Regions from separate parts of the Homo sapiens genome. Here all the other regions are linked to region 1. The links are contacts of gene promoters, found by promoter capture Hi-C in blood cells and fetal thymus (Javierre and others, 2016). All regions are on one chromosome and are shown on one strand. The core of a region is centred on a gene start or on the middle of the fragment in contact, and the rest is flanking DNA. Distances in the headings are between cores, read along the strand shown. Region 1 holds the start of ZNF396 (zinc finger protein 396). Region 2 has its middle 50 kb from the start of MAPRE2. Region 3 has its middle 160 kb from the start of MIR3975. Region 4 has its middle 33 kb from the start of MAPRE2. Region 5 overlaps LOC105372064 (a long non-coding RNA gene). Region 6 overlaps MAPRE2 (microtubule associated protein RP/EB family member 2). Region 7 overlaps GALNT1 (polypeptide N-acetylgalactosaminyltransferase 1).

Evidence for each region. The method cuts DNA at HindIII sites, captures the fragments that hold promoters and counts their contacts. A CHiCAGO score of 5 or more calls a contact.
Region 2: a fragment that was not itself captured here is called in contact with the fragment with the promoter of ZNF396 in region 1 in 2 of 17 cell types (naive B cells and naive CD8 T cells); the score reaches 5.2 in naive B cells.
Region 3: a fragment that was not itself captured here is called in contact with the fragment with the promoter of ZNF396 in region 1 in 3 of 17 cell types (erythroblasts, M2 macrophages and M1 macrophages); the score reaches 7.4 in erythroblasts.
Region 4: a fragment that was not itself captured here is called in contact with the fragment with the promoter of ZNF396 in region 1 in 2 of 17 cell types (M0 macrophages and fetal thymus); the score reaches 5.6 in M0 macrophages.
Region 5: a contact is called between a fragment that was not itself captured here and the fragment with the promoter of ZNF396 in region 1, in 1 of 17 cell types (M1 macrophages). The highest score is 6.7, in M1 macrophages.
Region 6: a fragment that was not itself captured here is called in contact with the fragment with the promoter of ZNF396 in region 1 in 1 of 17 cell types (naive B cells); the score reaches 5.2 in naive B cells.
Region 7: a fragment that was not itself captured here is called in contact with the fragment with the promoter of ZNF396 in region 1 in 1 of 17 cell types (M0 macrophages); the score reaches 5.1 in M0 macrophages.

What each region holds. Positions count from the first base shown.
Region 1 is chr18:35,375,876-35,379,071 of GRCh38, forward strand. ZNF396 (zinc finger protein 396) reads right to left here and starts at 1,462. Exons shown (of 4, transcript NM_001322286.2): 1 at 1,403-1,462. RefSeq lists silencers at 978-1,167, 1,178-1,247. The HindIII fragment of the contact is 6,702 bases long and covers 1-2,820 here.
Region 2 is chr18:34,990,291-34,993,486 of GRCh38, forward strand. It overlaps a transcript of MAPRE2 not described here. Among named protein-coding and RNA genes, the nearest start is that of MAPRE2, 50 kb to the right of the region's middle. The HindIII fragment of the contact is 4,840 bases long and covers 1-3,196 here.
Region 3 is chr18:35,746,075-35,749,270 of GRCh38, forward strand. No RefSeq gene overlaps it. Among named protein-coding and RNA genes, the nearest start is that of MIR3975, 160 kb to the left of the region's middle. RefSeq lists an enhancer at 2,185-2,684. The HindIII fragment of the contact is 3,244 bases long and covers 8-3,196 here.
Region 4 is chr18:35,006,816-35,010,011 of GRCh38, forward strand. It overlaps a transcript of MAPRE2 not described here. Among named protein-coding and RNA genes, the nearest start is that of MAPRE2, 33 kb to the right of the region's middle. The HindIII fragment of the contact is 2,453 bases long and covers 309-2,761 here.
Region 5 is chr18:35,715,659-35,718,854 of GRCh38, forward strand. It overlaps LOC105372064 (a long non-coding RNA gene), which reads right to left. Exons shown (of 5, transcript XR_935377.3): 2 at 1-3,196. Among named protein-coding and RNA genes, the nearest start is that of MIR3975, 130 kb to the left of the region's middle. The HindIII fragment of the contact is 2,402 bases long and covers 337-2,738 here.
Region 6 is chr18:35,058,322-35,061,517 of GRCh38, forward strand. All of the region lies in intron 1 of MAPRE2 (microtubule associated protein RP/EB family member 2), which reads left to right. Among named protein-coding and RNA genes, the nearest start is that of MAPRE2, 19 kb to the left of the region's middle. The HindIII fragment of the contact is 3,425 bases long and covers 1-3,196 here.
Region 7 is chr18:35,689,557-35,692,752 of GRCh38, forward strand. GALNT1 (polypeptide N-acetylgalactosaminyltransferase 1) reads left to right here. Exons shown (of 12, transcript NM_020474.4): 8 at 1,456-1,636; 9 at 2,625-2,764. LOC105372064 (a long non-coding RNA gene) reads right to left here. Exons shown (of 5, transcript XR_935377.3): 5 at 520-887. Among named protein-coding and RNA genes, the nearest start is that of MIR3975, 99 kb to the left of the region's middle. The HindIII fragment of the contact is 418 bases long and covers 1,303-1,720 here.

The DNA.
Region 1 (3,196 bases), core at 212-2,711:
GGGATTGCAGACGTGTACCACCACGCCCGGCTAATTTTTATAATTTTAGTAGAGACGGGGTTTCACCATGTTGGCCAGGCTGGTCTCGAACTCCTGACCTCAGGTGATCCCTCTGCCTCGGCCTCCCAAAATGCTGGGAGTACAGGCGTGAGGCTCTGCACCCGGTCTAATCATATTTTTTAAATTGGGCAGGAGGTATATGATAGTGTTTGTACAACTTCAGCAAATGATGACTACTTTAAAAATCTTACGTGCGCCTCCGTCTTCCATCGTTATGTATCCTGCCATTTGACTTATTTTCTCACTTCACCAAGTATTGTTCTAGGCCCTGTATAAAGCCTGTGAGTTCATAAAGTTGTTACCAAATAAATGATACAACTTTACACAATGATGTGCTATGAAACAAACAATAGCAGACACACATATTAACAGAATTTACTATGTGCCAAGCACTGTTTTGAACACCTTAGTAAAAATAAACAAAGGTTAAATCCTCATAAAAGCCCTAGATTATTTTTACCCCCATGTTGTAGACGGGGAAGCAGTCACAGCAAAGCCAGGTACTCTGGCCAAGGGCAAAGCTGGGGTCTGAACCCAGGCCGTCCACATTTATCCATGGTGCTGTGTGGTTAGAGGCCATAGGCAGCAGGGGCCCTTGTGGTGACCCCTGCGCGTTGTCTCAGCGCAGAGGAGGAAGTGGCGGCAGGCAGCCGCGCTCCCAGATGAAGCGGGGCCAGAAGAGTCTGGGGAACAAGACCTGAGAGGTGGGAAGGGTTGAGGCCACCGGTTTGGAGCCGTCAGGTACCCTAAGGGATATATGAGGGACCCCGGGGCTAAAGCAGCCTCTGGAAGAGAGTGGCCGCCCTGTCACTTCAGCACCAGGCGCAGAATCTGTGCTAAACCTGAGGTGAGGGTAAGGAACCCCCGACACCGCACGACAACCAGAAAGAACGTCCCTGGAGGGGAGGCTTCGATCAAAGCCTGGGACGCAGGGGTCTTTCTGCAGGGGACGCCGCTCTCGGCTCTACCCTGCTGTGGTGGGCCGGCTCTGGGAGGGCTGGCTTCCGACCATCTCCCGACCTCCCGCGCCCACCGCGCCGCGCCGCGCGCCTCCCAGGCTGGGAACCGCCGGGGCGAAGCGGCAGGTGGCGCGGGTTCACCTGGCAGGGCAGGCGCCCGGGGTCCGCCGGGGAAGGACGAGGGGAAGGGGTGCGCGGACTCAGGGGCAGGCAGCGGAGGGGAGGGGCCTGGGGATCTGGGACGGTGTAAGGGTGCTGCACTTGCGCGCGAAGGGAGGGGTGGCGACGAGTCCGCGGCCGCCTCTCCGCGTCCCCCTTCCACCACCCGGGGACCACCGCCTCTGACCGCAGCCTGGGGGCCCTAAAGAGGCCTCGGGTCTCACCTCCCGACGCCGTCGGGGAGAAACCGGGGAACTGCCAGCTGCGCAACAACTTCCGGTTCTGGTGGCGGGTCGGGGCGGGGCCCGGAACGCGGGGACGTTGCCATGGAGAAGAGCCGCTGTGGCCGCGCACTTGGGACAGGGAAAGAGAACCGGGAGGCTCGACCGGTGGGAATCCAGCTGCTCTGCTCAGTGTTCCGTTCAATAAACTAGCATTGTTGCTTCGCAAAGTGCTTTTGCTTACATTATTCATTTACTCCGGTAACTCAGTAAGGTTATTCCCATTTTACAGAAAATAAACTCAAATGTCCTGTGACTTGCCAAGGATTACAGAGAGGGGCGAATGCTGTGCTGTCTACCGCTGAGTACAATCCCTAATACCATTCCCACTCCCGAAGTGGTTACACCCCAAGTACTGACGTTTTAAGGGACAAGTTTGACATCCGCAACCCCATGCTTTCACAGGAGAACACAATGGCCCTTGAAAAAGTGAGAACTGACCCACATAAAATTTGTTACAATACATACACATATCTCTCCTCAGATAATCTTAATCTCAATTGAAAAATAAGTTTGAGGCCGGGCGCGGTGGCTCATGCCTGTAATCCCAGCACTTTGGGAGGTCGAGATGGGCAGATCACATGAGCCAAGGAGTTCGAGACCAGCCTGGCCAACATGGCTAAACCGCATCTCTACAAAACATACAGAAATTAGCCGAGTGTAGAGACGCATGCCTGTAGTCCCCGCTTCTTGGGAGGCTGAGGGGTGAGGATCACCTCAATCTGGGGAGGTGGAGACTGCAGTTAGCCATGATTGCGCCACTGCCCTCCAGCCTGGGCTGCAAAGTGAGAGCGTCTCAAAAAATAAATAAATAAATAAATTTAAGCCTAAATGCACCACAGCCCCACCTCGTGACTTCCTTCTCTAGCCCCTTTCCCTAGGGACTCCTGGAAAATGTACTTGTACTCGTAACTGAGGAATTAGGGAGAGGACGGAGATGCTTGAAAAGCACTTGCTAATTAATAAAGAACAATAACAAAAAATCCCTTTTGGTATGACGCCGCCCCAAAAGTATGTTAGTACTGGAATCTGAAGTGAAGAAAGAAGAGGCTGGTTTACTCAGTTTATGACGCTAGGGGACTAGGGAGAGGTTTGGATCCCAATTAGAGTACAGTAAAACTAAATCTGAAGAAATTCTTGCTTCAAACAAGGGGCTTTCACAGGATAAGACTTTTTGCTGATGCAGCTGCCAACACAAATAGCAAACAGCCCAAAAGTGCAGGTGGGAATGTGTTTCTGGCGCTGGTGGGTAGGGTAGGTTAAATGACTCACGTCAGGGGAGAATTTGAAACGAGGGCAAGGCTTGGCAGTGGTGTGAAGTCACAGGAGACAATTTAAGGAGAATATGAACGACAGTCAGAAGCTTCAAGGAGAAGGAGGAACTGTGGGATGTGGCAAGAGGTCAGGGATGATGAATTCATGGGTATGGTCCACCAAACAGCCAGATATCAGAGGCCAAAGTTAAAAACAGCAACAACAAAAAAGGGAGCAGACATAAAAGATTGATTAGAAAAGTTTCACAGTCAGGTAGTTAGAGCAAGAACAGGTTTTTGTTTGCTGTTTTAATTTTTTAAAAATTTTGGGGGTAAAGTGAAAAGAAATTAGCAGGAATAAGGTCCCAGTAGGGTGAGCACCTACTATATACCAGTTGTATCGTAAACACCGGGAATTCAATGGTAAAATATAGATTCTTGCCCTTTAGGGGCTAATAGACTAAGTAAAGAGAAAGATGAATAA
Region 2 (3,196 bases), core at 257-2,756, 390 kb before region 1:
CTGCTTTGTTAAATACTAATACCTCTGGGAGGGATGGCATTTGAGGCTTGGTGTGAGGGTTGACCAGTTGGCAGGTTTTGGTAAGGGTTTAGAAGGAACAGAATGCTTGTCTGACAGGAGAGGGTAAGGAACACTAGGAAAGATATATGGTGGACTCTTGGAGAATTGATTTCTAACTCTGACAGGTGTTGGGATATTTTTGTCTGGAATCTTAATGTAGGTCATTTTTTTTCATTTAGAAAAATCCACACTTCTTATCTAAAAATCTCAGATGTGACTTTTTTCTCCAATCCTGACTCTCATCTATGATAAATTTCATCTAGCGCTACGTTCAGTGTAAACCACTGATGCCCTAGGGAATTTTTTTAGATGTTTGTTTTAAAATTTTAGACAGTCAAAAGCACAGTACTTCTACACTGATGTTTCTAAGTTATATTAAGATTTATCAGGCTGGGCATGGTGACTCATGCCTATAATCCCAACACTTTGGCAGGACAAGGCAGAAGGATCGCTTGAGGCCAGGAAATCAAGGCCAGCCTGGACAATATACTGAGACTCCATCTCTATAAAAAGAAACACACAAAAAATTAAGCAATAACTGAACTATAGGGAGCTTTCGCTGTATTCATGGATCCCTTGGTCTTTTCATTGTGGAAGGAATGTTTTGTGAACTTGGGGACAGATAATCTGATGGGGGGAGGATCAGCTCCTGAGCCTCTGCTTTTTGTTTTTCAACTTCTATTTTAGATTCAGGGGGGCACATGCAGATTTGTTACAATGGTATATTGCATGATGCTGAGGTTCGAGGTACAACTGAACACATCACCCTGGTAATGAGCATAGTATCCAACAGGTAGTTTTTCAACCCTTGTCCACCTCCTCCTGCCTCTTTCCTCCCCTCTCTTCCTCTTCTCTCTCTCTCCCAATTCCCTTTTGTAGTCCCCAGTGTCCATTGTTCCCGTCTTTACGTCTATGTGTACCCACTGTTTAGCTCCCACTTCTAAGTGAGAGTGTGCATCATTTGGTTTTCTGTTTCTGTGTTCGTTCACTGAGCCTGTTTTGAGTAACAGGAGAGACCGAGTAGAGCTTTGGAACCAAGTTGTGCTCAGAAACAAGAAACGTCTGTCCTACAGAACTATTATTTGCCTTATTTGAAAGGAACGAGAGGCTCCTGGTACTGCTTACCCACAGCTCTCACAATTAGCCACACAGACTGCAAGACTAAAGGGAGTATAATCATATTCCAGAATGCGTGGCCTTTTTTCTCCTCTTGGGAGTCTACCGCTATATTATACTTACCCATCACCATGGACACAGCTCCAGGAGCATTGTGAATTGGAGTTAGGTTCATCTCTTTTGTGGAAGAGTATGTCAGGCTGTCTTTCTGGAATCTCTTATCTGAGTGTCTGTGATGATGCTATTCATGGTAATTTGCCCAGACCTGGGACCTTGGGTGGGGTTTGTTAGGAGTCATCTGGCACCTTTAGAGTATAACTTGTTGAGCAATCTGACGCAGGTAAGCCATGCGGGATAGGTAAAACAATTGTTGTGTTCTGTGCTCTATAATATCAAGTCATATTTTGAGTCATATTTTCCCATGGAGTTTGTGGCCCATCCCAATGGGAAGAGATTTTTAACACTATGTTCTTGTGAGGCCTAGTGGTGTTTTAAGGGTTGCTATTGGAATCTGAAAGCTGTGTGAATTTTTTCGTTTTTTATGTTTTGGGTTTTCTTTTAACATTAAAGAATGATTCATAGCCCTGAGCTTTGTTACCACCCTGTTAATAATTTTGTGTGACTTTGGTTGAGCGACTTTTGGACGCTGATTTCTCTAGCTGAAAAATTATGTAAATATTGTTACTATCATGAGTAGAGGCTCTAGAGATTAAAAAAATTAAAACAGCAAAAGTATTACAGACAAGTAAAATTAGAGAAATGATAAAGTGGAGACAGCAATAGCTACTAAAATATTCAAAAGAAAACATGAAGTAAGACAAAGAATGGTTGTCTCCAACTACCCCTCTTAGTTCAAAGTCTGTGCAATGATCTTCACTCAAAACTTTTGCAAGTTGAGCACATCATTCTTATTGTTCTTTATTATATGAACAATAAGTTAATTTGAACTGATTGTCAAGGGACCTAGTTCTTGCCCCAGCTGTGCTTAAAGTACAATCTAAGCCAACTCAATTCACTTTTGTGACCTCTGGTCTCATAATAAAATGAAAGCATCCTACATAACTTTACCCATCCACTCTCCACAAAATATCCCAGTGCTGTGAAAGGTGTTTGTTAATTCATTTTCTTATAATAAAATATAATAGAAAATAGAGTGGGAACTATATTTTTTTCCTTTGGGGAATCCATAAATTACATTTTAAACGTGAGGAAAACATGCAGTTTTGATAGTCCATTAGCACATTGAATTCTTTAAATTGGAATAGGCAGATGCAGTGATAAGTTTAAACATCCATTTAACATATGGAGAATGCCATTATAGCTGTTCAAAATACGAAAGCGGTGTGATTTCCGGCAGATCAGACACATTTTAAAAAGCACCCACTCAGAAAACTTCCTGAGCTCACGTTTCCCTGTGCATGTGGTTTTTAGTGTTGGGTTGTCTCTCCCTCATAGGCTGACAAATAAAGAGTCCATATATCATATCCCATTAGCGATAAGGGAAGACATGGAAAAAGCAGAACCACTGATGGAGCCCAGGAGTGAGTTGGATTGTGCTGCCTCAAAATACAGGTCAAGACACTAAGGCCTGAATCTTGTGATTTTGTGCTACTGCACAATTACTGGACACTGATTTATTTATAAATGAATGAATGAGTGAGACAGGATCTCACTCTTGCTCAGATTGGATTGCAGTGATACAGACATAGCTCACTGCAGCTTCAAACTCCCGGGCTCAAGTGACCCTCCCAAGTAACTGGCAATATAGGTGTATACCACCATTCCCGCCTTTTTTTTTTTTTTTTTTTTTACTTTTAATAGAGGCAAGGTCATGTTTTGTTGCCCAGGGTGGTCTAGATCTCCTCGGCTCAAGGGATTTTCCTGCCTCTGCCTTCCAAAGTGTTGGGATTACAGGCATGAGCCATTGTGCCTGGCCCAGGCACTGATACAGCACCTGCCTGAGGCACTAGATCATGCAAGAACAAGAAGAAAATAGACTTAAAACACAGGGAGTGAACCA
Region 3 (3,196 bases), core at 380-2,879, 370 kb after region 1:
TACCAAAAGCTTCGTGGCTTAAAACAACACAAACGTATTATCCTGCAGTTCTTGAGGCTAGGAGTCCGACATGGGCTAAAAGTAAGAGGGCTCTGTTCCTCTCAGTAGGTTCAAGGGGAAAACCTGTCCTTTCCCTTTCCAGCTTCTGGAGGTTGCCTGCATGCTTTGACTCATGACCTCCTTCATCTGTCTTCAAAGCCAGCAAGAGCGGGTTGAGGTCTCATATTGTATCACTCTGATCTCCTCTTCTGCCTCTCTCTTCTACTTTAAGGACCCTTGTAAGTATAATGGCCCCAGCTGGATGATACAAGATAATCTCCCCTTTGTAATGCCAGCTGATGAGTAACCTCACTTTCACCTGCAACAAATGTAATCCCTTTGCTATGTAACCTAACATATTCATATTCATAGGTTACGATGTGGACGTCTTTGAGGGGTCATTATTCTGCCCCCCACATTGCCTGCTTTAATATAAGTAAACACACTTGGTGGATGTCAGCTTTGACGTCAATACTACTGCTACTAATAAGAATAACAAGGAATTATTATCATAAAAACTCCAAGAAGCAGTTATTATTTCCATCACCTTCCTTTGCAAGGAAAATTGAGGTCCCAGAAGATTGAGTATTTTGTCCCAAGTCACAAGACTGTTGCTATGAGGTGTCCCAGAGCAGGGTTGGGGCAACAGGACTAGATGTCTAAAACAGTCATCTTTCCAGCCAGAGGAGCTACCGGTGTAAAGGTAGCCCCTTCTGTACCAGAAAAGGCCCAGTCCTTGGAGCAACAGGCCTGGTTCAAATCCTCATCTCCCTGCTCACTGCACCGTGGTCTGGGCAAATTATTTGAACTTGCCTTGCTCCAGTTTCCTCCTCCTCCTCTGTTCAGGAGAGGACATGCCAGGGCCTAGGAAACTGTATGTGGAGAAGACACAGGCAGGGACATGTCCCATGTCTGCGCCAGTGTCCTGGCTCCTTGGCTATCAGGTCCATACCTGCCTTACCCTGCCCAGCCTTGCCCTGCCCTGCCCTGGAGGGAGAATGTGCCCTAAACTCCAGGACCCTGTGTCAGCAGGGCTGGTGGACTGGGTAGCCCCTGACCCAAAGCATCTGTGAAGTATGCAGCAGACTCCATAAGGTGAGAAGGGCCAGCACAGGGCTCCCTCACCATCTGCACCAGAGTATAACATCCCTCCCTTGGGAGTCCAGGCCCCCAAAGTCTCAGCCCTAGCTCCAGCTCCAATAGGGAAAAATGGGCTGAGAAATGCACTGGGAGATCCCCAGCCTGGCTCTCCTGGGGAAACCAAAAAGGCTGCAAGTCACAGGGTGCCTCTCAGAAGTCCAGTCTGCCGCTGTGGAGGCACAGGGATCTGCATGTGCTTCTGCTGTTGCTAACGATCCTTACAATAACTCATAAAGAACCTGGGGTTCTCCCAGCCTCCGTACATGAGTCTCCCCCGGGCCTCCCCAGCCCTAATGCGGGATGGAGATGACAGATTCGCAGAGGGACTTGGCCAAGGTCACACAGCTCACATGTGGAGGCAGAGCTAGAATCTGAGCCTCGGGGGTTATAAACATTTTGCTAAAACTTAGGCTTTGGGAGAACGGAGTGGGGCCCTGCAAAACTGTGCCCACAGGTTGTTATGGCTGGTGGGTGGGCCAGCCCTTCCCTCTGTGGTAAACAGGGAAGGCCCATGGGGTGGAGGCGGGGGTGGGGGTGGGGGTGCAGTGCTTGGGTAGGTTTGAGGTGGAGAATGAAGCAGGAAATAAATGAGGGGAGGGAGCAGGGGACAGGAAAAGGATGGAGGACAAGGTGGGGTGACCATCCACGGCCCCCCAGTCCCCAGGCCCAGCTCAAGCCTGGGGTAAAGAATGAGCCTCGGCCTTTGGGGGGCCTCACTTGTATCAGTAGAGGGGATCAGAGGCCCCATCTGGCCAGGCACTGCCCACAACGTGCTATGACACCTTCTGTCAATCACCTGCCGCCCAGGCTTCAGTCTGCTCCTCAGTTAAATAAAGGATGTGGCCATAAAAGATCTCGAAGGCAGTCCCCTGCCCTGACAGGCAGAGGGCTCTGGGTGGCCTCTGTCAGATGGCAGGTTGGGGACTTCCTCATTCATTTGTTCAGCAAATATTTACCAAGCACCTACTGTGTGCCAGGCAGCAGGGTGCAGCTGGGCTTTCTATCTCTGCTTATACCGAGGAGACTCCAGGTGCAGGGGTGTGTGCAGCATGTTAGGCTGTGACTTCCTCAGAGTCTGACATGCACAGAGGTGAAACAAGCCAGTGCTCACACCGACCACACATTTTAAAAGCCAGCCCAGCACTGAGGCTTACCACCACCCCCAGGGGGGGAAGTGCCAGCCTAGGCAGGGCTCCTGTGGCTGGGGGCAGCCTGGCTTTGCCCACCCAGCCCCAGCAGTCAGCAGGACATGGGCAGATCCAGGAAGACCTGCAGGATGATGGAATCCACAGATTCAGATGGCCAAAACCAAGCTGACCACAGATAACAGAATGGATGGGCCAGGAAGATGCATTTGACCCTGTTGGGGCTCAGAAAACAATACCCTGAAGCATGGGGCTTTGGCATGCTGAGAACTTTGAAATGAAGGAAACTGGAAGGTCACAGACGCAAGTTCTTTCTGATCTTCTCCTGCCCTCCCATCTCCTTTTCCTCTTTCTTCCCTGAAGCAAGTCATAGGAACCATAATTCAGCTTCCCCAGGATGCATCCTAGAAACTACAATCCCTCTCCCCCAAAGCAAGCCATAAAACCTAGAAAGGTCATTCTCTCCCTTCTCCTGTCTCCCTCATTCCAAAATAGTCCTGCCCTATACCTAGGAGCCAAAATGAGTGATTGAAGCATAAGTCTCAGATCACTGAAGTTTATGGAGCCAGCTTGGGGGATGCACCTGGGAAAAACACGAGTCACAGATGCATCTGTGGCTCTTTCTTCCAAAGACGTTCTCAGGAGGTTTTGTATTTATACATTTTCCTTAAAAAGTATGGGGCGGATGGCAGTGAGCTGAATGATTACATACTTGTGTATGTGCCCAGTAAATCTACATTTTATGTAAGATAAAGTGAATATTGGAAGAAAATGGGAATAGAGGAAGCATATGTCTCAGGGAGGGGTGAAGGGATGATCAATCTCATTTTATCTTTGTTCTGTACCTGGGAAGATAAGCAAGTAATCAACAT
Region 4 (3,196 bases), core at 285-2,784, 370 kb before region 1:
AGCTGGGCATTGTGGTGCATACCTGTAATACCAGCTACTCGGGTGGCTGAGGCACAAGAATCACTTGAACCCAGGAGGCAGAGGTTGCAGTGAGCCAAGATCGTGCCACTGCACTCCAGCTTGGGTGACAGAGCAAGACTCCATCTAAAACAAGCAAACAAAGTGGAGATATGGTACCCTGCATGATGTTCCAACAGCTGGAATATTCAGGGGCCAGAGCAGGCTCTAGGACAGAGTTGGGACAGGGCTCAGTGGAAAGGTACCTGAGGGCATTAGAAATAGGAAGAACCAGGAAGAGAAACCACCTAAGCTTTCTGTGTCTATAGCTGCGGATCATAAGTGCCCTTTGAAAACTGATCTTGTACTGCTAGCCCTTATAGTAGGTGGTCCATATGTCGGGTCTGTATGAGGCAATCCTGGTTCAAGTCTGTGTTCCTGGAAAATAGTCTAGTTAGCACTGCCTTTCACCCTCAAAACGTTTCATTTTGGATGATAAATTATATGATCATCCTATCTTCCAGGCTGGTGAAGAAAAAGTAACAGGAAAAGGTGGCCCACTATCTAAATAGGGTGTTGCTTTCTAAATCTCCTTATATATGGGGGTATGGGACAAATGTGTTTTTAAAGAGCCAAATTGTAAATATTTTTTGCCTTGCTGGTCATACAAGTCTCAGTCTAAACTGTTCAACTCATTGTAGTGTGAAAACAGACAAAGATAACACATAAAGAGATGGCCTTGGCTGTGTTCAGTAAAGCTATTTACAAAAACAGGCAATGGACTATACTTGGCCTGCAGGCCATCATTTGCGCATCCATGATAGATAACAGAGATGGGTTAAGTTGGTAGGAGATGGCAGAGAACCAAAGAGAGAACCATCATTAGTCCCTCTCCCTTCTCTCTATATCCCTTCTGGGTTGCACCCTCCTTTATTTAACCCTTTCAGGAACTAGTACAGTTGACCCTTGAACAACATGGGTTTGAACTGCACGGGCTTACTTATAAGTGATTTTTTTTTTTCAATAAATGCAGTCAAACTTCCATATCCGTGGATTCCAGATCCGCAACCAAAAGTAAACTGAAAATACAGTATTCATCGGTATATGAAGCCAAAGGCAGCCAGCTTTTCATATTGCTGGATTCAGTGGGCCAACTGGGGGACTTGAGCATGAATGGATTCTTGTGGGGGAAGGAAGGTTCTGAAACCAATCCCCTAGGGAAAGCTGTATTGATCATTTCCTTGAATGAGTAATCCTATCTGCTATTAAGTGGTTCCTGAGATTCCTTTACTGGGTGTCACTTCTTGTTTCTCATCCAAATCTGTTCCTGCACCACACACAACATGCTTGTACTTTATACCTCATGATGTATAAGACTCAGGTGACACCTGAGTCTTAGTGTTAAATACTGAAGCAATAGCTCATTAGTAGGCAATTTAATTTTATGCTTTGATCCTCACTAAATAGTTATCTTTGGGAAATATAATCAGTCACGTTAAGGAAAAGTTCATGTCGACTATACCAAATTTTTTATTATATTAATGAAAAGTAACATAATACACTTAAAGAAAACCTAGAGGAGAAAATCACCCATAACAACACCATCCTAAAATAACTATTTTTCCATTTTTGCATATTTGGTCTTCTCACGGGCATTCCTAATTTTCCACAGTGCATATCATAATGAGTGTGAACTTTGTATTTTACCTACTGTGAGTCACAGCATCTTTTACTTTCATGGGTCATCAGAACTATTATTGGAATTGCAGTATAATGTTATATCAACATGCCATAGTATGTGCTTTAATTCTTACTATCTTCCCATTTTCACTATAAAAAATGCTATGCTAAATTTTTATACAGATCTTGTTGTTGGTTTGGTTTCGTTTGGTTTGTGTCTATTCATCTATTTTCTAAGGTCACAATCCCAGAAGTGGGATTATCTGTCAAGGACAGACCATTTTTATGACTTTTAATCTAGTTTACTATATTTTTCCCAGAGATTTGGAATAATTTACAAACATTTATAGTTTTAGGGTACTAGTTTCACCATAACATTTTCAGAAAGCATTTAATTTATTCAATAGTATTTACTGAATGATTACTAACTGTAAAGCACTGTGCTGAGTGTTTTGGGGTGTGTGTGTGTGTGCATGCACGTGTGTGTGTGTACATATATATATATGAATGATGTGCTCATTCTACATTTATTTTGTGCCTACTATCAGCTAGGTATTGTAGTTTTTCAATAGTGAGCAAGAGATAGCTTCTATCTCAGAGCATTTGACTTTACTGGGGAACTAAGATATATGTAAACGACTTTAGTAAGAAAATAAGATGCACCATAGGAGAAATACAGTTACAGTATAATGGGAGTTTGGGGAGGGGGAGGTAGAGATGACATCTGAGCTGAGCCATGAAGGTGAGTTGGTGTGGAATACTCAGGGATGGTGAGATTAGCTATTCATTCCATAAACATGTATTGATCACCAACTCTGTGCCAAGTTTTATGGTAAAAGCTAGGGATATAGAGGTGACCAAGGCAGAGCTCTTAAAGCATACTATCTAATAGTGTAAAGAATATTTTTTAAAAAATCATTATAAGGGTGATAAGCAGGCTAGCTTGCCTGGCAGAAGATACACAAGGTTAGGGATGAATGCGAGTTTCCCCTGGAATGAAACTTTTCCATGGCTTCTCTTTTGTAAGGCACAGCCTTCATCATCAGTTATTGTGTCAGAATCTGTGGGAACATCTGCTTCTGGAAGCTTGAAGTTTCTTGTAATTGCACTTGTACTGACCAACATTCCAATTAAAGTTGGCCTGCATTGACAGTCCCCTAAATGAGTACATTTACTGAGAATGCACGGAGGATAGGCCTGGGATCGGTGAGACCTACAACTTGGCCCTCACCAGATGATGATGGAAGTAAATCACTAAAAATTGTGGGTTTCATTTGTGTTTTGTCTTTAAAACAGCTGGAAGGAACCTCACTGATAATCTAATCCAACATCTCATTTTACAGATGAACATTCTTGAGTGAGGAGAGTTTGAGTGACTTTTCTAGGGTTAGACAGTGGCATTACCACAGCACCAGAACCTTCACTTCTGATTCTTCTTGTTCTATGGTCACTGCTTTAATTAGCCCTGCCTCATCTAAACCATAGAGGTAGTAAGAATTAGGACTAGATTAACCTAAGC
Region 5 (3,196 bases), core at 288-2,787, 340 kb after region 1:
TTATCCAGTGTGGTGGCGCCCACCTGTAGTCCTATCTACTTGGGGGGCTGAGGCATGAGAATTACTTGAATCTGGGAGGCGGAGGTTGCAGTGAGCCGAGGTCGCGACACTGCACTCCAGCCTGGACAAAAGAGCGAGACTCTCTAAAAAAAAAAAAAGAATAAAGTCCTTTGGGGGGAAAAAAAAAAAAACCTGTCAATCCCCACCCCCATACTCCCACTAACTAAATTCAGATACGAAATTACTATCAAAAAGAGTAAGTAAGCCATCATGTGTGAATATTAAAAAAATTAATTCTAGCTTCTGGCAGTGCGAGACTAGCTTGTATCAGACTAAAGCTTAGTAACTTAATAATTTGGAACAAAATATTATTTAAAGAGTGATGCCCCAGGTGAGTGAACAGAAACTGTAGGGCATTTGACCCCTGTTAAAAAGGTGTGTTCACTGGATAGGATCTCAGCTTTTCCCCAGAGAGCATCCACCATGCACTCAGCACACTGAAGGTAGAGTTCATGCAGATGGTGACGAATAATATTAGGCTGAGGAGTCAGATCTTATTTGAGAGCAAACAGAGGCTGGAAATTGAGGAAGGAAATCCTAGACTGCAAGGAGTCAGAAAAAGAAGTCCCCAAATCTACATACAAACTTCCCTCAGATGGTTGGCTGATTAAATAGTGTGCACAGGATGAAACTCCAGGAAGGTCAGAGAAAAACAACCACCGGAAGGCAGAAAGATCTAAGCAGCAGTCTCAGCAGTTGCCCAGCACCACAAACACAGAGGTCGAAGTTCAAATTTGGAGGGGCTTGGTAAACACTGTTAACTTTATGGTGAGATCCAAGAAGGGCATGTGTAGAAATTAAGACCATTTCTAAGACCTTAGGGCTGTTTCTAGAGCCAACTACAAAATGGAAATTGACCACATCTAATAAAGTGGCTATTTTATTGATTATTTTTGAAAATAGTCAATAAAAAGCAGACCCACTAGTGACCTAGATGTTGGAATTGGCAGACAAATTCTTCAAAATAAGTATCAGTGTTTTAAAAATGTATACAGAGAAATGTGGATATAATAAGTATAATAATGGGAAGTTTCAGAAGAGGTCTGAAAACGGGGAAAAAAATCCTAAAACCAAAAAAGTATCTAAAATCAAAAACTCATTGGGATTTACAGCAAATTGGACACACACAAGAAAGGATCAGTGAACTTGAGCACAGGTCAATAAAAAATGTCCAAACTGAACCACAGAGAAAAAAGATAAAGGGATTAAAAAAAAAAAAACAGCCTTGATGATCAAATACATGCATTGACCTGGAAGGAGAGAAGATAGAGAGTGGAGGCTCTGAAGGAGACTCTTATTTTCTCCATTCTGTGGTTGCTGGTAATTCTTGGCTTGTCAGATGCCTCACTCCAATCTCTGCCATTGTCTTCACTTGGCATTACTCTCTGCATGTTTTTGTGTCTTTCTTCTCTGCCTCCTCTTATAAGGACACTAGTTACATTGAATTTATAGCCCACTTTAATCCATTATGACCTTATCTTAACTGGATCTGCATAGACTCCGCAGTGAGTCGAATTGTGTCCACAGGTAAGAAAGACATGTTTAGTCCTACCCACTAATACGTCAGAATGTGACATTATTTGGAAGTCGGGTCTTTACAGAGGTAAGCAAATTAAAATGAGATCATTACGGTGAACCCTAGCCCAGTATGACTGATGGCCTTATTAAAAGGGGAAATGACACAGACACATAGAGAAGGAAGATGATGTGCAGATACAGAGAAACACCATCCACAAACCAAAGGGTGTCTGAATCTACCACAACCTAGGAGAGGCATGAAGCAGATAACCCCTCACAATCCTCAGAAAGAACCAACCCTGCCAACACCTTGATTTTAGGCATCTAACCTCCAAAACAGTCAAAAATTATTGTGGTTTAAACCACTCAATTTATAGTACTTTGTTACAACAGCCCCAGGAAATTAATATAAATCATATTTCTAAATTGAGTCTCATGCTGATATTCTGAATAGATGAAATTCGGATACACTATTCAACCTAATACATCTACTAAACGTTTAAAGAAGAATTAACAACAATCATTCACAAACTCTTACAAAAAGAAGAGGGAACATTTCTCAATTTATTCTATGAAGCCAGCATTAGCCTGATACCAAAGCCAGACAGACATAACAAGGGAAAACAAAACAAGCTGAAGACCAATATTTCTGATGAATATACAGGTATACCCTCATCTTATTGTACTTTGCAGATACTGTGTTTTTTTAATAAATTGAAGGTTTGTGGCAACCCAGCATCAAGCAAGTCTCACAGTGCCATTTTTCCAACATTGTGTGCTAATTTCATGTCTCTGTGTCACATTTTGGTAATTCTTGCAATATTTCAAACTTTTTTATTATTAGAATATCTGTTACAGGGTTCAGTGGTATTTGATGATACTATTGTAATTGTTTGGGGGCATCACAGACTACACCCGTATGAGAGGATGAACTTAAATGATAAATTGTGTGTGTGTGCATGCATGTGTGCGTGCATGTGGACTGTTACACTCATTGGTCCTTCTGCTGTCTCTCTCCCTCTCCTCAGCCCTCTTTATTCCCTGGGACACAGAAATTTTTAAATAAGGCCAATTAATAATCCTACATTGGTCTCTTACGTGTTAGAGTGAAAAGAAGATTCACATATCTCTCATTTTAAATTGAAAGCTAGAAATGATTAAGCTTAGTGAGGAAGCCATGTTGAAAGCTGAGATAGTCCAAAAACTAGGCCTCTTGCACCAGTTAGCCAAGTTGTGAATGCAAAAGAAAAGTGCCTGGAGGATATTTAAAATGCTGCTCCAGTGAACACACAAACGATAGGAAAGCAAAATAGCCTTATTGCTGATATGGAGAAAGTTTTAATGGTCTGGATAGAAGATCAAACCAACTGCAACATTTCCTTAAGCAAAATCCTAATTCAGAACACAGCCATAGCTGTCTCCAATTCTATGAAGACAGAGCAGAGAGGAAGCTGTGGAAGTAAAGTTTGAAAATAAGAGGTTGTTCATGAGGTATAAGGAAAGAAGACATCTCCATAACATAAAAGTGTAAGGTGAAACATCAAGTGCGAATACAGAAGCTGCAGCAAGTTATCCAGAAAATCTAAGATCATTGAAGAAGGTGGCTACACTAAACAAT
Region 6 (3,196 bases), core at 408-2,907, 320 kb before region 1:
GTTTAAAAATCAATTTTACCATAATGTAAATACAGACCTTTGGATAGGCACCAATCTCTAAGAGTAGAATACTGAGAGGCTTGTCTATTTTTTTTTAAGGAATAGCTTTTTCTAAACACATAGTCAAGATACCAATCTGAAGTCTTTCATTAGCTTTGAAAAAATTATAAGCAGTATAATGTACATGGTCTCTGTCCATTTTGACTAATTTACCACAAAAAGCAAATTGAGAGGCTTGAACCTCAAATCTGTAGTAACTAGAAATGCACGATGTGATGACTCCTACGATATTAACATACCTTATATGTTACAGCTGGCAGATTTGCCAGCCAAAAATTCATTCCCAGCGATAAACTGAGTAACTAGCCACCCAAATCTCTACATTTTGAGCTTTTCTTCACAGAAACTTAAAATCATCTTGGTTAAAGTGAAAATGTAAAATGAGATCTTGGTAGAATTTAAAAAGACAAAATGGCTTTATTAAAGACCACAATTGTGTCCTCACTTGGAATTATTTTTTCTTCCTGCTTAATCTCATGACATAAACACAAGAGCAGGGAGAGTCTCAATTAAAAGCAAGAATCCTGGAATTCATCCTAGGTCCAAATCCCTGCTTTGCCACTTAATAATGGTGACTAGACAAGTCACTAAACCTCTCCGAGTCTGTATCTTTTCCTACATAACATAAAAGCAGCAGTGATCACATGGCATTGTTGCAAAGATTAAATTAAAAAATTCCTGTTTTACTCTTTCATTAGGCATGTGGAAAGTTTTCAATAAATATTAGTTATTGTAACTTCTAATCTAGTTCCCCTTGTTTACTAGTGAAGAAAAGGAGATCCCAAAGAGTTGAGACACATGTGCCCACATTTATCCAACTGGTTGATAGTTCTGGAACTAGAAGCTGCTGCCCCTGATGCCTAGAACAGAGCTCTCATTAAGCTGCAGGGCAGCTAGGGAGCTTTTGGTATCTGTGTTCCAGACATTTCCCTACTCACCTTTAAAAAAAAAAAAATGCCTAGAAGACAGGGTCCTTTAATTCACTCAACCCTAGTCTGTTCCTAGCCATCTCACATAGCACTAGGGGCACGTATTGATATTTGCCTTTTGTATGATTTGGCACACCTTTGTTTGCATTCATTCAGCATTTATTTATTGTGTACCTACTGTGTGCCACACACAGTTCCAGACACAGGAGATAAAGCTGTAAACAAAACATATTCTATAAAGTTTCTGCCTTCATAGAGCTTACATCCTGGGGGCAAGAGGAGTGGACAGATGGTAAACAAACAAGATAATTACCAATGGTGTTAGTATCACCGAGGGCAGAGTAGAGAGATGTGGGAGTAACTGGAAGCGGCCACTTCAGAAGTGGGCATGGAGGGTTCACTGGGGAGTTGACATTTGAGCCAAACCTGAAGCATGAGATGCAGCCAACCCTGCCAAGTGCTGGAACAAGCTGCTCTTCCGTGGCATGAGGTCTTGAGCCCCAGTTATCCCTAAGGATGAAACTTGAGGCTTTGCTCTGTCATTTGTTTCTTATTATGAGAAGATTTAGAAAAAGCAGACACCGAAGTACCTGAGAAGGAACTAGCACCACCAAGAGTACAAGAGAGCTCAGAACCAGGAGGTGGGGACCACTCCTACAAAATGTGTGCACCACAGGACTTTGCCTAGTGGCAGCATGATTGTTTGATGACCGCATATGCTTCTGCTATATTGCATGCGCCTGATTTTATGCAGTGGACTAACAACTGAGCATGACCACCCACTATGGTACCAGCAGCACCTATGTCCTGAAAGGTTGACCCAGGGCCCTGCTCGTTGGGGGCAGCGTGGGCATGACTGGAAAAGACCTGGGATCATGGGAAAGAGCTAAGGTCAGGGTAAGAGGGAACGAGGCCAAGTAGGGCTGGGAAAGTAAACAGAAGGCATATGGTCAAGAAGGAGTGGATGTGCTGGGAGCTGAGTTGGCGGGGGAGGGGGTACTGAGAAAAGTTGGTGCCCTGAGGAGACCAGCCAAGCCCTGTGGCATGGGAATGAGCTCTAGGTCATTGAAATTATTTTCAGAGCATGGACGAAGCCACCCACTGCTAGAAACAGATGGACATTTAGGCAAATATAATCAGCTGCATTTCTGACCATATGAAGAAGCGTATGTCTATGTGGGGCAGGGAAGGGTTAGCCTTTTACTCTCTCATTGTACATGTCAAGTTTCATTCATATCCATGGACGTTATGAATGCTACAAAGAACTTTTTTAGAATTCCAAAATTTTGTCATACCCTGGATAGGAGCCAAATTTCCAAGTCATTTCAGGGCTGTAGCTATTGACTTGTTAAGTCTGAGTTTAGAAAACAAAACAAAAATCCACCCGTATATGCTGTTTTGAAAGTTTGTCTTTTTTGTTTAGTTACGATAGGGTGGCTAGCCAAACTAAGCCCTGTATGCAAGGAGCTGCCTAATGAATAGTAGTGGATGAGGTTAATGCAGATAAATAACAATGAGGCTGTTAAAAATGGAGTTGATTTTCAAGGTGACTTACGGAATGTCCTATTGTAGGCGGTTGGAGACACCTGTGTTTTAATGATATTCTGTTGGTTTTTTTTCTTAAAACATATGTAGAATACTTGGTGATATGGCAAGAAAGAGCTTAATCTCCGTGTTTTGAAAAATAATCATTAATGGTAAAAGGGATGGGCACCCTGAAAAAGAGTATTATTTTTATGTTCATTCTCTCTTGGAGGTGGCAGTTATTAGCTGTCGTTAGGAGTTCTGATTGTCAGACTAAATGGAACTTTGTATGCACATTAAAAGCATTATCATTAAGAAGTGACTGATAATGAAGAGCACATTCATATTGGAATGATAGGCAGCCTGGAAAAGCCTGCAGTAGAGAGCAAGCACCTCAAACCTGATAAAACTCACATTTATCTCATCTTCCTCTAAACAGCATAGTTTTGAAGATTCTTACATTGGTCTTCTTCACTAGTTCTAAACCATCAATGCCTAATTTTGAGAGAAAAAAATAGTATATTTCAGTGTCTATATTTTAATAAAGTATGTGCATGTTGTCATATGGACAGTGTCCTGATATTTCTCCATCATCCTTGTGTGAAGTCAGTTCCGTGCTCACACCCCTGCCACATGGAGAGGCCCGGCCGCAGGGAGGGTCTGTGCCTGGAGGAGTTGGTCTT
Region 7 (3,196 bases), core at 262-2,761, 310 kb after region 1:
AATTTAAGCTCTAAAAGCTAATATATAGTTTGGATATGCTACTTTGCTGCTTTACTCTCAAAAACATAAATTTCACATTTAAACATAAATTTCACATTTTGTAATATGCTTTTTATTTTAGTGTGAAAATTTTTTTTATATAAAACCTAGTCACTTTACCAGCTTTATATTTTTCAATAAAAATGCGAAAGAATTCTAAAATGACTCTAAATTAATTTAACCCAGTCTACATATAAAGTCTTTGCATTTCATGTTCACTAGAATCAACATATCGTTTAAATGGCATTGCATATTTTTGCAAATAACCAACTTTAGACACATAGCTTATTATAGTGGAAATCACACTGACGTGTACTGTAATCTGAACCAGCGAGCTCACTTTGTTCCCAGTGAATCGCTTTGCCTTCTTGTCAAAGAGAGGGTTGGACTCAATATCACCTTGGAGATCCTATCCAGCTCTAACACTTATAATCCTGGGAAAACTTGAAGGTAGGAACACTGAATATTTAACAAAATCAGAACTTTCCAAAATGTTATTTTAATTATAAAGAGTTATGAGATTTTTAACTTGGTGGGGGGAATGTATTTTGAAAGAAACAGAAGGATTTCATTAAATTAAGGATGTAAGCCCATACTTGATCATCTTTCTTCTGCCCCTTTTTTTGTTTTTATTGTTCTAACAAAGACAACAAAACATGCTTTTACTGTCTCACTGAAGAACTTACAATGGATCTAGTTGAGATTCCTAGGTTCTGTTTCATGTACAAGCCGTGACGCAGGTTTGGAGAGGGGTGAACAGATGAGCATCTGGCTGGTTACTCCATGGTCAGGTTTTGTTTGGTGGTTGTTTTTAACCATGAGCCACATTAATAAATACATTATACATTCTGCACACACAAAACATAAAATTTAAACATTTTATGAAACAGTATGTCCTTGTTAACAAGTACAGGTTGCAATTCATCAATTTGAATTTATGATTCTCTTAGGTATAATGGCCTGCAGTTAGAAAAATACTGCTCTAGATCCCATATCTTTTCTGTATTTAGCCTTTAACCTATGTTTTCTTTATTTTAATCTTCAACTTTTGGTTTGATCAGAACCCAAATTAGAGAAATGTTTCTCTTGAGGAAGCACTGGCTTTGTAACCTAACCATACAGCCGGAGCCCATCATGTGCCCCTGATTTTGCGAAATTCCAACTGTGGAACCCAATAGATGTCAATACTTTTTTAAAAACTATCAATGTCATATATGGTCTTTGCTGTTATTTTCAGATTTGGTAGTATGGAGGTACTTTGGAAGCTTTTTACCAGTAACTACAATATGTTCCATTTAAGTTTAAACAAAAGCCAAACCCCTATTTAATTGAAAAGAAAAATACTATGGGAAAACTAAGGTGAACATTTCCTGATTACTCAGCTACATGTTACATGGTCATCTCTGCTGTTTTCAGATTTGGCAGTGTGGAGGAACTTTGGAAATTGTTACATGCTCACATGTTGGACATGTGTTTCGGAAAGCTACACCTTACACGTTTCCAGGAGGCACAGGGCAGATTATCAATAAAAATAACAGACGACTTGCAGAAGTGTGGATGGATGAATTCAAGAATTTCTTCTATATAATTTCTCCAGGTTAGCGTTGTTTTGCATTAGAAATACAAGGCTGTACCTTTGTTGACCCTGATCCTGGAGGAGAAGTAAGAAGGTTAGAAGTGAAGCTTTGAGCAGAGGTGAACACCTGCCTCATAAGGTCATTGTAAGGAATGAATGAAATCACACACAGTATAGAAAGTGCTTGGCAGAATGCCTAGAATAATATATAATTAACAGTAATAAATTATCCAGGTCAGTGTTGCTAGCCCAGGTTTTGCAGATGTTCTATTTTTTTTAAAACCTAACTGCAACATTTAGTATTTATTCCTGTGAAGTTTCATCTTGTTAAATTTTCAGCCATTTTTCTAGCTTATATGACTTTTTCTTGATTCTTGGAGTTTTCATTCAACATAACAAAACCACTGTTTTTGCAGTGGGTCATGAACGTTCTCTATAAGCAGGCCCTCAATGCTGTCATAGGAGGCTTTCGTCAAGTATCACAAGGCCACTGAGAGCCCAAAACGTGCCACAGGGCCTTCTTTCCGGAAACTTTGCTATTCAGAGTTTTGTAGGAACAGTTGTTCCATCAGCTATAAGTCGGCCTGACATTGTTACTAGTCCATCCTTATTTTTTAGTTACTGCAAGACTGTCAAGTGGCAGGGTGCACAGTTCAGTGAGTTGTGTGAGAGAAGCCTGACTGCAAACAATTGCTCTGTTTAATATTTGAGCAAAATAGACCTTGATTTTTTTGTTTGTGCCTTAACATATATTGAAGTTTACTGATCCCATATCACTTATATTTCATTCTCACATAAATGTCATTTTTCTCTGAAAAATTAAAACACATTTTAATGTATTTTCCTTGCTTTATACTTTTGGTGGATTCATGGTGTCTCCACTTGTATAGTCACATATCACCCAGCTGATACCACTGTTCTGATTCATCTGGCTTATTAGATTCAATATATAAACATGTGTTACCTAAAACAACACTAATAATTCAGAGTCAATTATTTCTTTCAACAGGTGTTACAAAGGTAGATTATGGAGATATATCGTCAAGAGTTGGTCTAAGACACAAACTACAATGCAAACCTTTTTCCTGGTACCTAGAGAATATATATCCTGATTCTCAAATTCCACGTCACTATTTCTCATTGGGAGAGGTAAGAAATATATATATATATATTCTATGTGGTTATTATGTTCTTACTTTTTTATTAAAAAAAAATAGGAGTTAGTTAAACTTCCAATAAGGAAAGTACCTTCATGTTAACATTTAACTTCTCTTGCTTCCTTCCTCCTTCTTACCACGTAAGTCTAAACTATATTCTTTTTTTCCCATTCCTCCTCCCTGAAAGTTGATTTCCACTGAGTTGATGCGCCTGGAGATAAGCTGTGTACTGTGGGGTCTGTTTTTCCCTATTCTGTCTATAGTGATGTGTTTCCTAAACAGACTGCACCATCTGCAATTGTGGATCTGTAAAATCTGTATATATATTAAAAAAAAAAAGACTTCTTTGCAGGTCTTTGTGAACTTGTAATTATAAGATGGCTTTTAGAAAAAAATATGAAGCCAAGTAGGGAAAGAAATCCAA